Regions from separate parts of the Homo sapiens genome. Here regions 1 and 2 are each linked to region 3. The links are contacts of gene promoters, found by promoter capture Hi-C in blood cells and fetal thymus (Javierre and others, 2016). All regions are on one chromosome and are shown on one strand. Each heading gives the region's core, a stretch centred on a gene start or on the middle of the fragment in contact. The rest is flanking DNA. Distances are from core to core; before and after follow the strand shown. Region 1 overlaps LINC02558 (long intergenic non-protein coding RNA 2558). Region 2 overlaps LINC02558 (long intergenic non-protein coding RNA 2558). Region 3 holds the start of BPIFC (BPI fold containing family C).

Region 1 (3,854 bases), core at 48-2,547, 450 kb before region 3:
AACCCGGGAGGCGGAGGTTGGAGTGAGCCAAGATAGTGCCACTGCACTCCAACCTGGGCAACAGAGTGAGACTCTATCTCCATAAATACATAAATAAAGCACCAAAAACTTTATCAATGTGTGTATGTGTTTTATGGATAGACAAAGACAGAAATAGAAGGTTCATGGGTGCAAACATATGTGGAAATGAAGTATAAAATGACCATAGGGATGATAACTGGTAACTTCAAGATGATAGTTACCTCCAGAGAGGGAGAAAGAAAGGTTCAAAAGCAGAATGTTAATTAAAGCTATACAGTGGAATTAATTGTTAAAAAGGGCAGAGATCTAAACTAAAACGCGCACACAAATAAGTACAATACAAGGAGTGTGATAATGTCAGAACAGATGAAAACAGAGACAAAGAGAGAGAATAATGGACCTGGGAAGTTCCAGGAAAATTTCTTGGAGGGGGCAGCTTGGAACTGAGCCTTGAAGGGTGGGTAGGATTTCTGAAGGCTGAAATTGAATGAGGGAGAGATGAGCAACGGCATAGAGATGTGAAGAGAGGCAATTGGAGAACACCAGGTCATACCAGCTAAGGTGAAGGTGGGAAGAAAAGGGGGTGAAGAGGTCCTCCCATGGGTCAGAGGAGTGTTACACTCTTTTTTGCTGGAAGGCTTCCCAGAAGGTATTATGAGCAACCTGAAGGCCAAGACTCAACTTTTCATGACCCCACTGCACATATAACAGTACTTTACATATACATATACCAAACATCATAAAAGGATTGAATGAAAGCAATGTCATCTAAGGGGAAAGAGGAGTTTAGGATTCCTAGAGTCTTGTAATAGAGTCTGATTGCAATAACCAGATTATTGCCTCTATTGTGCCTCTTTTAAAAAGAACTTAAAAGAGGGAACCTAGGGTGTAGCAGAAAAGTTGTGGAAAGTCCATACCTATAAAGTTAGGGTTAGGATTTTGAGCCCCGCCCTTTCTAGTGTAACACACTGCCATGATCTTAGAAGCACTGCAAGGAAACAAAATTACTTGTAACTGTTTGAAATCTCACAGAACTTGAAATAGGATAGTCAATTACATCATCTATTAAAATTGTGGGCCGGGCCCAAGGCTCCCAGCACCTTGGGAGGCTGAAGCGGGAGGATTGTTTGAACCCAGGAGTTCAAGGCCAGCCTGAGCAACATAGTGAGAACTCATCTCTACAAAAAATTTAAAAAAATGAGCCAGGTGTGGTGACATACACCTGTAGTCCTAGCTACTCGGGAGGCTGAGGTGGGAGGATCACTTGAGCTAGGGAAGTTGAGGCTGCAGTGAGCTGAAACCATGCCACTGCACAGCCTGGTTAGCGGAGTGAGACCCTGTCTCCAATCAACCAACCAACCAACCAACAAACAAAAACTAAAAAGAAAAAGAAGGCTGGGTGTGGTGGTTCATACCTGTAATCCCAGCACTTTGGGAGGCTGAAGCGGGTGGATCACCTGAGGTCGGGAGTTCGAGACCATCCTGACCAACATGGAGAAACCCCATCTCTACTAAAAAAAAAAAAAAATACAAAATTAGCCGGGCATGGTGGCATATGCCTGTAATCCCAGCTACTCGGGAGACTGAGGCAGGAGAATCACTTGAACCTGGCAGGTGGAGGTTGCAGTGAGTCGAGATTGTGCTATTGCACTCCAGCCTGGGCAACAAGAGTGAAACTCCATCTCAAAAAAAAAAAAAAAAGGAACTGCTTTTGTCATATCCTATAAATTTTGGTATGCTGTGTTTCCATTTGCATTTGCCTCAAAGTTTCCCCCTTTTTTTGAGCCATTGGTTGTTCAGAAACATATTATTTAATTTCCATGTGTTTGTGAATTTTCTGAAATTCTGTTATTGATTTCTAGTTTCATACCTCTCTGGCCAGAAAAGATACATATTTGATATGATTTCAATCTTCTTAAATTTGTTAAAACTTTTCTTATGACCTAGCATGTGCTCTATCCTGAAGAATGTTCTTTGTGCACTTCAGAAGAATGCGTATTCTATTGCGGTTGGGTGGAACGTTGTGTACATTTCTATTAGGTACTTTAGGTATACAGTGTTGTTCAAGTCTAGTGTTTCCTTATTGATTTTCTGTCTGGGTAACCTATCCATTATTGAAGGTGAGGTACTGAAGTCTCCTACATATTGTTGCATTGCTCTCTATTTTTCCCTTCAGATCCCTTAATGCTTCTATCTAGGTACTGTGATGTTGGGCACATATATATTTATAATTGCTGTATCTTCCTATTGAGTTGATACTGTTGTCATTGTATAACGACCTACTTTGTCACTTGTGACAGTTTGTTTTTTAGATGGAGTCACGCTCTCTCACCCAGGCTGGAGTGCAGTGGCATGATCTCAGCTCACTGCAACCTCTGTCTCCGGGGTTCAAGTGATTCTCCTGCCTCAGCCTCCTGAGTAGCTGGGATTATAGGTGCCTCCCACCATGCCCGGCCAAATTTTGTATTTTTAGTAGAGATGGGGTTTCACCATCTTGGCCAGGCTGGCACAAACTCCTGACCTCAGGCGATCCTCCTACCTCAGTGTCTCAAAGTGCTGGGATTACAGGCGTGAGCCGCTTGTGACAGTTTTTGACTTAAAAGTCTATTGTGTCTAATATCAGTTCCCACAGTTGCTCTCTTTTGGCTACCATTTGCATGGGTCTTTTTCCATCTCCTCAATTTTAACCTGTATGCTCTTATATCTAAAATGAAACTCTTGTAGATAGCACTTAGTTGAATCGTTTTGTTTTTTTAAGTCCATTCAGCCACTATATGTCTTTTGATTGGTGAGTTTAATTCATTTACATTTAAAAGTAATTATTGATAGGTAAGGACTTACTGCTGTCATTTTCTTGTTTTCCATTTTGTAGATTCTTTGTTTCTTCTCTCTTTCTTTGTGATTTGATGATTTTTTTTGGTAGTGATATGCTTTGATTATTTTCTCTCAATATTTTGTGTATCTATTGTAGGTTTTTTGTGTTTACCCTGAAGCTTGCATAAAATATAGTTATAACAGTTTATTTTAAAGCTGACAAGATTTTTTTTTTTTTGAGCTGGAGTCTTGCTCTGTCGCCCAGGCTGGAGTGCAGTGGGATGATCTCGGCTCACTGCAACGTCTGCCTCCTGGGTTCAAGCAATTCTCCTGCCTCAGCCTCCCGAGTGGCTGGGATTACATGCGACTGCCACCACGCCCAGCTAATTTTTGTATTTTTAGTAGAGACAGGGTTTCACCATGTTGGCCAGGCTGGTCTCGAACTCCTGACCTCAAGTGATCTGCCTGCCTTGGCCTCCCAAAGTCCTGGGATTACAGGCATGAGCCACCGTGCCCGGCCGACAAAGTTATTTTTATTCCCTTTTTAATTTTTATACTAGGGTTAGAAATAATTTATACATCACCATTACTTTATTATGTTATTATGTTTTTGACCATATATTTACCTTTACTAGCAAGTTTTGTACTTTCATATGCTTTCATGTTGCTGTTTAGCATCTTTTCATTTCAACTTGAAAAACTTTATTTAGCACTTCCTATAAGGCAAGTCTAGTGGTGATTAACCCTCTCAGTTTTTGTTTGTCTTTCCTTCATTTTTATAGGACAGTTTTGCTGGGTATGGTATTCTTGGTTGGTAGGTTTTTTTTTTTCCTAGAACCTTTTATTTTTGTTGTTGTTGTTTTGAGACAGGGTCTTACTCTGTTGCCTAGGCTGCAGTGCAGTTATGTGATCATGGCTCGCTGAAACCTTGATGAAGCCTTGACTTCCTGGGCTCAGGTGATTTTCCCACCTCAGCCTCCTCAACATCTGGGACTACTGGCATGCACCACCACACCCAG
Region 2 (4,138 bases), core at 1,224-3,723, 430 kb before region 3:
CTCAGTTTGTTGATAAGGAAACTGAGATTTAGAGAGATTAAGTAACTCGCCCAATATCGCACAGCTAATGAAGGACATAACTAGATTTTGAACCCATTGCTCATAAATGCACATTAAAAATATGTGTTGGCCAGGTGTGGTGGCTCATGCCTATAATCCCAGCACTTTGGGAGGCTGAGGTGGGTGGATCACTTGAGGTTAGGAGGTTGAGGCAGCAGTGAGTGGTGTTCACACTCTAGCCTGGGCTACAAAGTGAGACATGTGTGTGTGTGTGTGTGTGTGTATGTATATGTGTATATTTTTTACATATATACATATATATTTACATATGTGTATATATTTACATATATTTTTTGAGACAGGGTGTCACTCTGTACATATACATATACACATACATATACACACATATGTGTATATATATGCCCAGAGAGGGTGTCCTTGGGGAAAGAAAGAATAAAGAAACATCTGAGAAAGAACTCAAAACTCTGGCTTCCAGTCCTTGTTTCACCTGACTCACTGTGTCACCCTAACAAGTCCCCTCCCCTCTCTGCTTCTCAGCAACCTGCCTCCACCATCTTCCTAATTCCTCAGCCCATTGGCCTTTAAGCTTCTGGGGTTCCTGCATCATGCTACTGGGGCCTCTCACCACATCTCCAGCTGTGTCAGACTCAGGTTCTGGATGGAACCTGAAGCGTTGACAGCCTGTGGGTGGAGGAACTGAGAGGAGACTCCGGGGAGTTCTCTAGATTTCTGACACTTTAGATCTTTCTCTGTGATCCTTTGCAAGTCCCATAACTTGAGCCTTATCGACTAGTGAGTTGGTACTTTGAGAAGTCGAGAAGCCGCACACTCCCCTCTCTGGAGATACACAATTTAGGCAATAACCTAAGTCATGCCAACACACCTCTGCTGCAAAAAACGCTTAAGGGAGCAGAGTAGCTAACACGGTTATTGCAGTTTCCTGACTATCCATGTGTAACACTATACACGGATACTCAGCTACCTCACAGAGGAGCTCAGAATCAGCTCACCACCCCAAGGAAGCCAGCTGGTCTGCACCTCCAAAATCTGCTTGCCTCAGTCACAACTCGCTCAGCATCTTTTGAAGACCAGGAAATTAGAGAGTACTTTGAACATAATCCCTGGAAAAGCCGCTAAACATGGCATAACTCATCCCCTACCTTTCACAAGTGGGACAGGGAGGCCCAGGGAGGCCATGTGACTCAGCTGGAATCAGAACTCAGGCCTTCTGACCCCATGCTGTTTCTTTGACTCTTGCACGCATTTCATCCCTTAGCCAGTTTCTGGACCCCATGGAGTATTCCTTTAGAATGCTTCTTCTAGGCCAGGCCACATCATCCCTCCCTGGATTACTGCAACAGTCTCTTCTGGTCTCCCTCCTCCAAGTCTCTCCTTCCTTCACTCCATCCGGCATAATGAGCCATGTCACTCTCTGACCCAAAATTGTCAGGGGCTCCCCACATCTACTGAAGAAAACCCAAAGGCCCCAGCCTGATATTCAAGGTCCTCCACTACCTGGTGCCAACCTGTTTCTGGCTTCCCATCCCCCCACCTCCTCTCCTCACACATCCTTAGTCCAGCTCAGCTGGACTGGTTGCCCCAGGATCTCCCTTCTCCTGAATTTCATCAGTGCTGTTTCTTCCAATGAGTTTGCGGGACTACCTTGCCCACTGCCCCATCTGCCACCTTTTCCTGTCCGAATCCTACTTGGCTTGGTTCAAATGCCCTCTCACCCGTTAAACTTCCTCACACTCCACTCCCAATGGAAGAAATTGCTCCCTTCTCTGGAACCTCAAAGCACTATTCTGAACCTATTATGGGTGGATCTATATTAGGCCTTAGTATTTATGTACCTGTTTCCTCACCTAGCAGGATGCATTAGCAAAATACATAAACAACTGGTCCAAATGCTTCCCATAAGCCCAGTATGGTGCCTTTTGCTCACTGATTCATTCTTTCTTTCAGCAACAATTTCTTGAACAGAGGCTGGATGTGTTGCCTCACACCTGTAATCTCAGAGTTTTGGGAGGCCACGGCAGCAGAATTGCCTGAGGACAGGAGTTTAAGACCAGTCTGAGCAAGATAGCAAGACCCCATCTCTCCAAAAACTTTTAAAAATTAGCCAGACATGGTGGTGCACACTTGCAGTCTCAGCTACTTGGGAGGCTGAGGCAGGAGGATCACTTGAGCCCAGTAATTCAAGACTACAGTGAGCTATGCTCATGCCGCTGCACTTTGGCCTGGGCAACAGAACAAGACCCTGTCTCTAAAAAATAAAAATAATAATTATTGAAGAAAGTTTTGGAGTCTGATAGACCTAAGTATGAGTCTAAGCTCTATCACTTGTTAGTAGTGTAACTTTGAACAAATTAACCATTCTAAGACTTAGTTTTCTCCTCTGTAAAACAGGGGTCACAATATCTATTTCACAAATTTATTGTAATGACTAATGATATAACATATGCATTGTGCTAAGCATATACCATGTTATCTCATTAGTATGTAATAGTATGAATAGTATTAACTACTAATATTGGCTTATTAATTGGATAATATAATTATCTCATTAGCATGTAATAGTATTAATAGTATTAACTATTACATGTGGGCTTATTAACTGGATAACATAACAATCCAATTAATAAGCCAATATTACTAATAAATAATCATGCTCCTACTATGTGCCTGGAATTTTGAAGGGGCAAACTGGAAGAGCCAAACAGAAGGCACAACATAAGGAGCACAGAGGCAAGTTGCAGCACCATTGTACCCTGAAAACAGCTGGTGCTTGATAAGTTATTTGCCAAATGAGAGGGAACCTGTGGTGGGAAGCAGAGCCCCGGGATTCTCTGCCACTGTCATGACCTGTGACCTTGAGTAAGCCTCACCTCTTTCCTGGGCTCAGTGTCCTCAGATGATCCACTCATCTGCCCCAGTTCCATAATTCCAAGATATGGGAAGTAACACTGGGCCTTTGGATGATGTTCCTTCATTCCTCCAACTCAGGCAGGAGCATGTTTTTACCTGCTCAATTCAGGAGTTTGGCCTACAGAGGCTGGTACCACCCTCTGAAGAGGTCACACCTGTCTCTGAAGCAAGAAACACTAATCACTGTACAAGGTCTTGCCCTTTCATCCAGGCTGGAGTACAGTGATGCCATCATAACTCACTGCAGTTTCTAACTCCTGGGCTCAAGTGATCCTTCTGTCTCAGCCCCCTGAGTGCTGGGATTACAAGTGTGAGCCACTGTGCCTGGCCTGGTTTTTGTGTTCCTGGAATCCCAGCCTCACTGGCAGGTTGACTGAAGGGTGGTCAGCTGGCAGTGTGGGGGATGAGGCTCACAGGTGAGTGCCGTGGTGAGGTCCTCAGCAGTGCCTGCAGGCCTGTGGGCCACCTCCTCTCGGGAGCTGCTTCTCTGCCTCATCTTACATTGCAGAGGGAGCTGAGGTCTGTGGGGTAACAGTCACACTGAGACATGGCTCACAGAGAGACGACTTCTGCAGGTGCTGAGTGACATCTAACCTTCCCACTCCACCTGCTCTCATCCTGGGCTCTGAGTTTTCAGAAAACCAAGGTGTTTGGCAGACGATGATGCCTACATTACACTGCTGACTTTTGCCTGCATTTGTTATAATTAATGACTCATTGAAATGCCTCTCACTTTCGTACAGCTGGGTCCAAGTGTCAAACTGGAGGTGAAGTGGGAGAAGGACTAGAGGGATGCTGGCTTTGGAGTAGCCTCAGAATTGGGACTAAGGCTTCACTTCTCCTTGCTGTATTCCCTCCTCTTCCTCCTCTCTGCACTAGTGGTACAGGCTTTGGTACAGGGAGTTGAGCGCCAGCTTGGCCTTTTACCAGCCGAGGGATTTCGGTCAAGTAACTTAACCCTTTTGAGTCTCAGTGCTTTTGTCGGTAAAATGGGGATAGCAATAGGGTCATTGTGAAGATTGAAGCTGTACCCCTTGTCACAAGACATAGTTCATATATTCTTCTTTGTGTCTGTCTCCTGCTCTGTGAGGTCAGGGCCCCACCTCAAGACTCCATCTTTGAGTCTAGATAAGGTGTCAATAATAAGAAAGATAAAAGTGAATCATTTTATTGAGCATTAAATATGTGC
Region 3 (4,005 bases), core at 781-3,280:
GTTAGAAAAAAAGGAAAAACCAAACTATCATATATAATATAGAGCTCTCCATTTCTATAGTGAAAAAAACATAATAAACCAGAGAAGAAATATTACTTGTGAATGGAATAACAACTAAAATAATAAATTTTTATTTCTTTACCCTTTACAAAACTCACAGTTCTTTGAAGTGGATGTTCTTATTATCTTACTCCCATTTTAGACACGTGGACATGGAGGCTTAGAGAATCTGATGACTCGTCCAAGATCCCACAGTAAGTAAGGCACCTGGGAACCCAACCTTGTTCTTCTGGTTCCTAATTCTAGTGTTGATGAATTTATTTTTATTGAATGACTCGATACATGCTAGGGTTTTCATTTTCATCTGGGAATTTTAAATAGGAGTTGCTTGACACCATTTTCCTTTTTGTTGTTGTTGTTTAAAAGTTACTCAATTTTTTTTATTACACTTTAAGTTCTAGGGTACATGTGCACAGAAAACCAAACACCATTTTCAAGGTGGAAAAATTCAATAAGCATCTAGAAACGTTCAAGCATCACAGTGCAAATCCCTTCTTATTTTCTTGGACACAACTGGAGTTTTAAATTCCCTGCCAGCAGTAAAACCTGTTTTCCCTTCTTGGTTAAAAAAAGTTTCTGAAGTGGTACACTTTGATGGAGATCCAGGAATCCAAAATTACAGGCAGGAAAACATATTTTTCCTCTAGAAATTTTATGAGTGAAAGAAATTACTGGGGTATGAAGGGGTGAATTGTACATAACTTTTCATTGAATTGTTCAGTTACGATGATAACTTATGGGCAGGGGAGGAAAGGAACCTTGTCAAGCAAGGTGATGACTACTAAAAGGTTAAGTAATTTGGCTGACAAGTGCAGGCAGGGCTAGTTGCCTGTTAAAAGGATCCAAGATCACTTAAAAACCCCACCAGCAAGTTATCTATTTTGTTGCTTCTGGGGAATTGCTTCTTTCCAAGATTCAAAATCTCAGTAGTCATTATTTTTCCATACAAATACACAGACAGAATAATACTCCTAAATTAAATGGTCCTTGTGTGAGTCATCCTGACAGCTAAGAAAATGCCAGTCCAATTTAGAAAACACCTGAAACTCACAGATGGTCCTACTACTACTGCTGCTTGGCAAGAGCTTTGACTGACTCTGGAAAAACCGATTAAGGGAGTAATGAATGAGTAAAATGTAGCCTTCAAAACAGAGGCGCAGGTTGAAAAATTAAGTTCAACAGGTTTAAAGAAGTCTAAACTAGAAGGGTATTCCGACATATTGGTTAAGACAAAATGACCGTACATAAGAAGTCTAAATCGACAGGTATGGAACGTGGGCAGAATATTTCAAGGGATCCACTCCTCACATCTAGTTTTATAGCAACATCTCTAATGACAAGGACCTTGAGAATTCATAGCATGTCTTTTCCCCAAAACTCTATGCCTAACACCAACAAGTTCAACAGTCCAGGCAAGTGGGTGGCTAGTTTTGCTCTGGCAGGATCTAGGTCACTGATGTGCTTTAAGACCTGCCTTGAAAGCACAGAGATTATAACAACTCCTTAGTCCTAACCATGCTGATTTTGAGAGACAAGATAGAATTTTCTGCCACTGTGCTGGGTTCCCCTCTGAAATGGAGGCAAAAATAAGTCCAGATCACTGAGCAACCCTCTTAACATTGTTCCATGATGCAAAACTAAGTAGGTGGTTTAAACCAACTCTTTTCTCTCTTATGGCTGTTTAGCTGTCACTAAAGCTTTTGCCTAAGAAGCCTCCAGGTGCGCATATGTGACATCACACAAACAAACAAACAAAGATACAGAAAAATCTAGGCAGACAATAATAATAACCCAGGATATATGACAGCTGCCTGTTCAAAGTGTCCTACCAAATCTGGGACATCTCCAGTTTGGAGATCATGGCTGGCAGAGACCTGAAGTTTGTTCATGAGTCTTACCTCAAGCAGAGGAAGTGTCCAAAGCTGGAGAGCACCTTCGATTCTCTCTGCCTTTGAAGCTGATGTGTTCTCCACCTTGCGCCTTAAACTCAGCTGCTAAAAAGCCAAGATAATTAAGTCTGACTCATCTCAGTGGTGAATTTTTTTAATGCCTCTTTCAAAATGTGATACATAATTGCTTCACTACAATTACCCAATGGCATGAATGAGCACTACAGTATCTACCTAGATAAACAGACAGTGCCACCTATGCAATAATTATCTTCCTGCAAAACACACACACACACACACACACACACACACACACACCACTTGTGAAATTGTGATGGCTACTTTACCAAAATGATTGAAAACGGTGTTAAACTGCATTGGAAGAGGAAGAATTTTCCTGTCTGGAATCATAAGCTGGTTCCTTCTGGTCAGGGTGCCTGCGGTGGATGGCTCTACTACTGCCCAGAATACCTTTGGGACTTGTGGTGGATCATCAGATTCAGTCTGAAAGCATGAGGCTTGACAATCGGGCTGACCTAGTTACCTTATCACTCAGGGTAGGACCTCAGTTGGCATCTCTCAGTGTCCGTCCGCTCCTTTTCAGAATGTTATTAATGACTTACTGTTCCAGCATTCCTTAAACCTAAGTTGGGTGGGTGGGTTCATCAACTATTATGCAACTTAACATTTTCAGATTCCAAACTCCAGCCCTACTCTCATCTCCAATAAATTCATTTTAGTTAATGTGTTTTATCTATTTTTATTTTTATTTATTTATTTTTTGAGATGGAGTCTCACTCTGTCACCCAGGCTGGAGTGCAGTGGAGCGATCTTGGCTCACTGCAACCTCCGCCCCCTGGGTTCAAACAATTCTCCTGCCTCAGCCTCCCTAGTAGCTGGGATTACAGGAGTGCGCTACCACGCCCAGCTAATTTTTTGTATTTTTAGTACAGACAGGGTTTCGCTGCATTGGCCAGGCTGGTCTCGAACTCCTGACCTCATGTGATTGATCCACCCGTGTTGGCTTCATAAGTGCTGGGATTACAGATGTGAGCCATCATACCCGGCCATTAATGTATTTTAGATGGCCAGGGATTTGATTGTATGAAGTTTTTTTTTTTGTTTTTTGGTTTTTTTTTTTTTGAGACAGTCTCACTGTCACCCAGGCTGGAGTGCAGTGGCATGATCTTGGCTCACTACAACCTCTGCCTCCAGGGTTTAAGCGATTCTTGTGCCTTAGCCCTCTGAGTAGCTGGAATTACAGGTGTGCACCACCAAACTTGGCTAATTTTTGTATTTTTAGTAGTGATGGGGTTTCACCATGTTGGCCAGGCTGGTCTTGAACTCTTGACCTCAAGTGATCCACCTGCCTTGGCCTCCCAAAGTCCTGGGATTACAGGCATGATCCACCGCACCCAGCCTGATTGCATGAAGTTCTTATGGCTTATCTACACTTTTCTGGGTAAGACCCGGTGACCAACTGTCCTGGTTTCCCAAGAATGCAGGATTTTCAGTACTAAAACCAGAACAGTCCTGGGAAAATCAGGATGATAAGTCAGTCTGAAAGGAACCACAGACGCTTTCACTTGGCATTGTCCATACTTCTCACAGCTTCTCAGGGGAGTTATACCTTGGGTTATACTTACTGATTTGAACTGAGTTTCCTTAAGGTAAAGTGGGGATAGAAATAGTAACTTCCTTGATTGGTTCTGGTGAAGAAAAACATAATAACACATGAGAATGCGCTATTAAAACTGTAAACTGCTGTGAAATTCTACTCATTAGCACGTGGCCGTATCAATAATGATACGGTGCAGAGACGCTCTTCATGGGATCATTTATTGTCGGTCATCATAGATGAATTCATTCATTCAATCAACAGATTTACTGAGCACCTACAATGTGCAAAGTCCTCTTCAGCAAAAAAGATGAAATTTTTGTCCACGAGGAGTTTATGTTCTAGTCGATGGAGACAAAATAAATAAGCAAACAATAAAATAAACAAAAATGTATAAATTGTGACATGTACTGTGACGGAACTAAGGGAATGTTGTTG

Evidence for each region. Contacts are between HindIII fragments. The CHiCAGO score rates a contact against its expected background, and 5 or more counts as called.
Region 1: a fragment that was not itself captured here is called in contact with the fragment with the promoter of BPIFC in region 3 in 4 of 17 cell types (M2 macrophages, M0 macrophages, M1 macrophages and 1 more); the score reaches 7.9 in M2 macrophages.
Region 2: a fragment that was not itself captured here is called in contact with the fragment with the promoter of BPIFC in region 3 in 3 of 17 cell types (M2 macrophages, M0 macrophages and M1 macrophages); the score reaches 7.5 in M2 macrophages.

The regions. Positions count from the first base shown.
Region 1 is chr22:32,009,742-32,013,595 of GRCh38, forward strand. The region is part of intron 4 of LINC02558 (long intergenic non-protein coding RNA 2558); the gene reads left to right. Among named protein-coding and RNA genes, the nearest start is that of SLC5A1, 32 kb to the right of the region's middle. The HindIII fragment of the contact is 3,429 bases long and covers 1-3,012 here.
Region 2 is chr22:32,030,976-32,035,113 of GRCh38, forward strand. All of the region lies in intron 4 of LINC02558 (long intergenic non-protein coding RNA 2558), which reads left to right. Among named protein-coding and RNA genes, the nearest start is that of SLC5A1, 10 kb to the right of the region's middle. The HindIII fragment of the contact is 3,737 bases long and covers 606-4,138 here.
Region 3 is chr22:32,462,416-32,466,420 of GRCh38, forward strand. It overlaps BPIFC (BPI fold containing family C), which reads right to left and starts at 2,031. Exons shown (of 17, transcript NM_174932.3): 1 at 1,959-2,031. The HindIII fragment of the contact is 5,490 bases long and covers 1,756-4,005 here.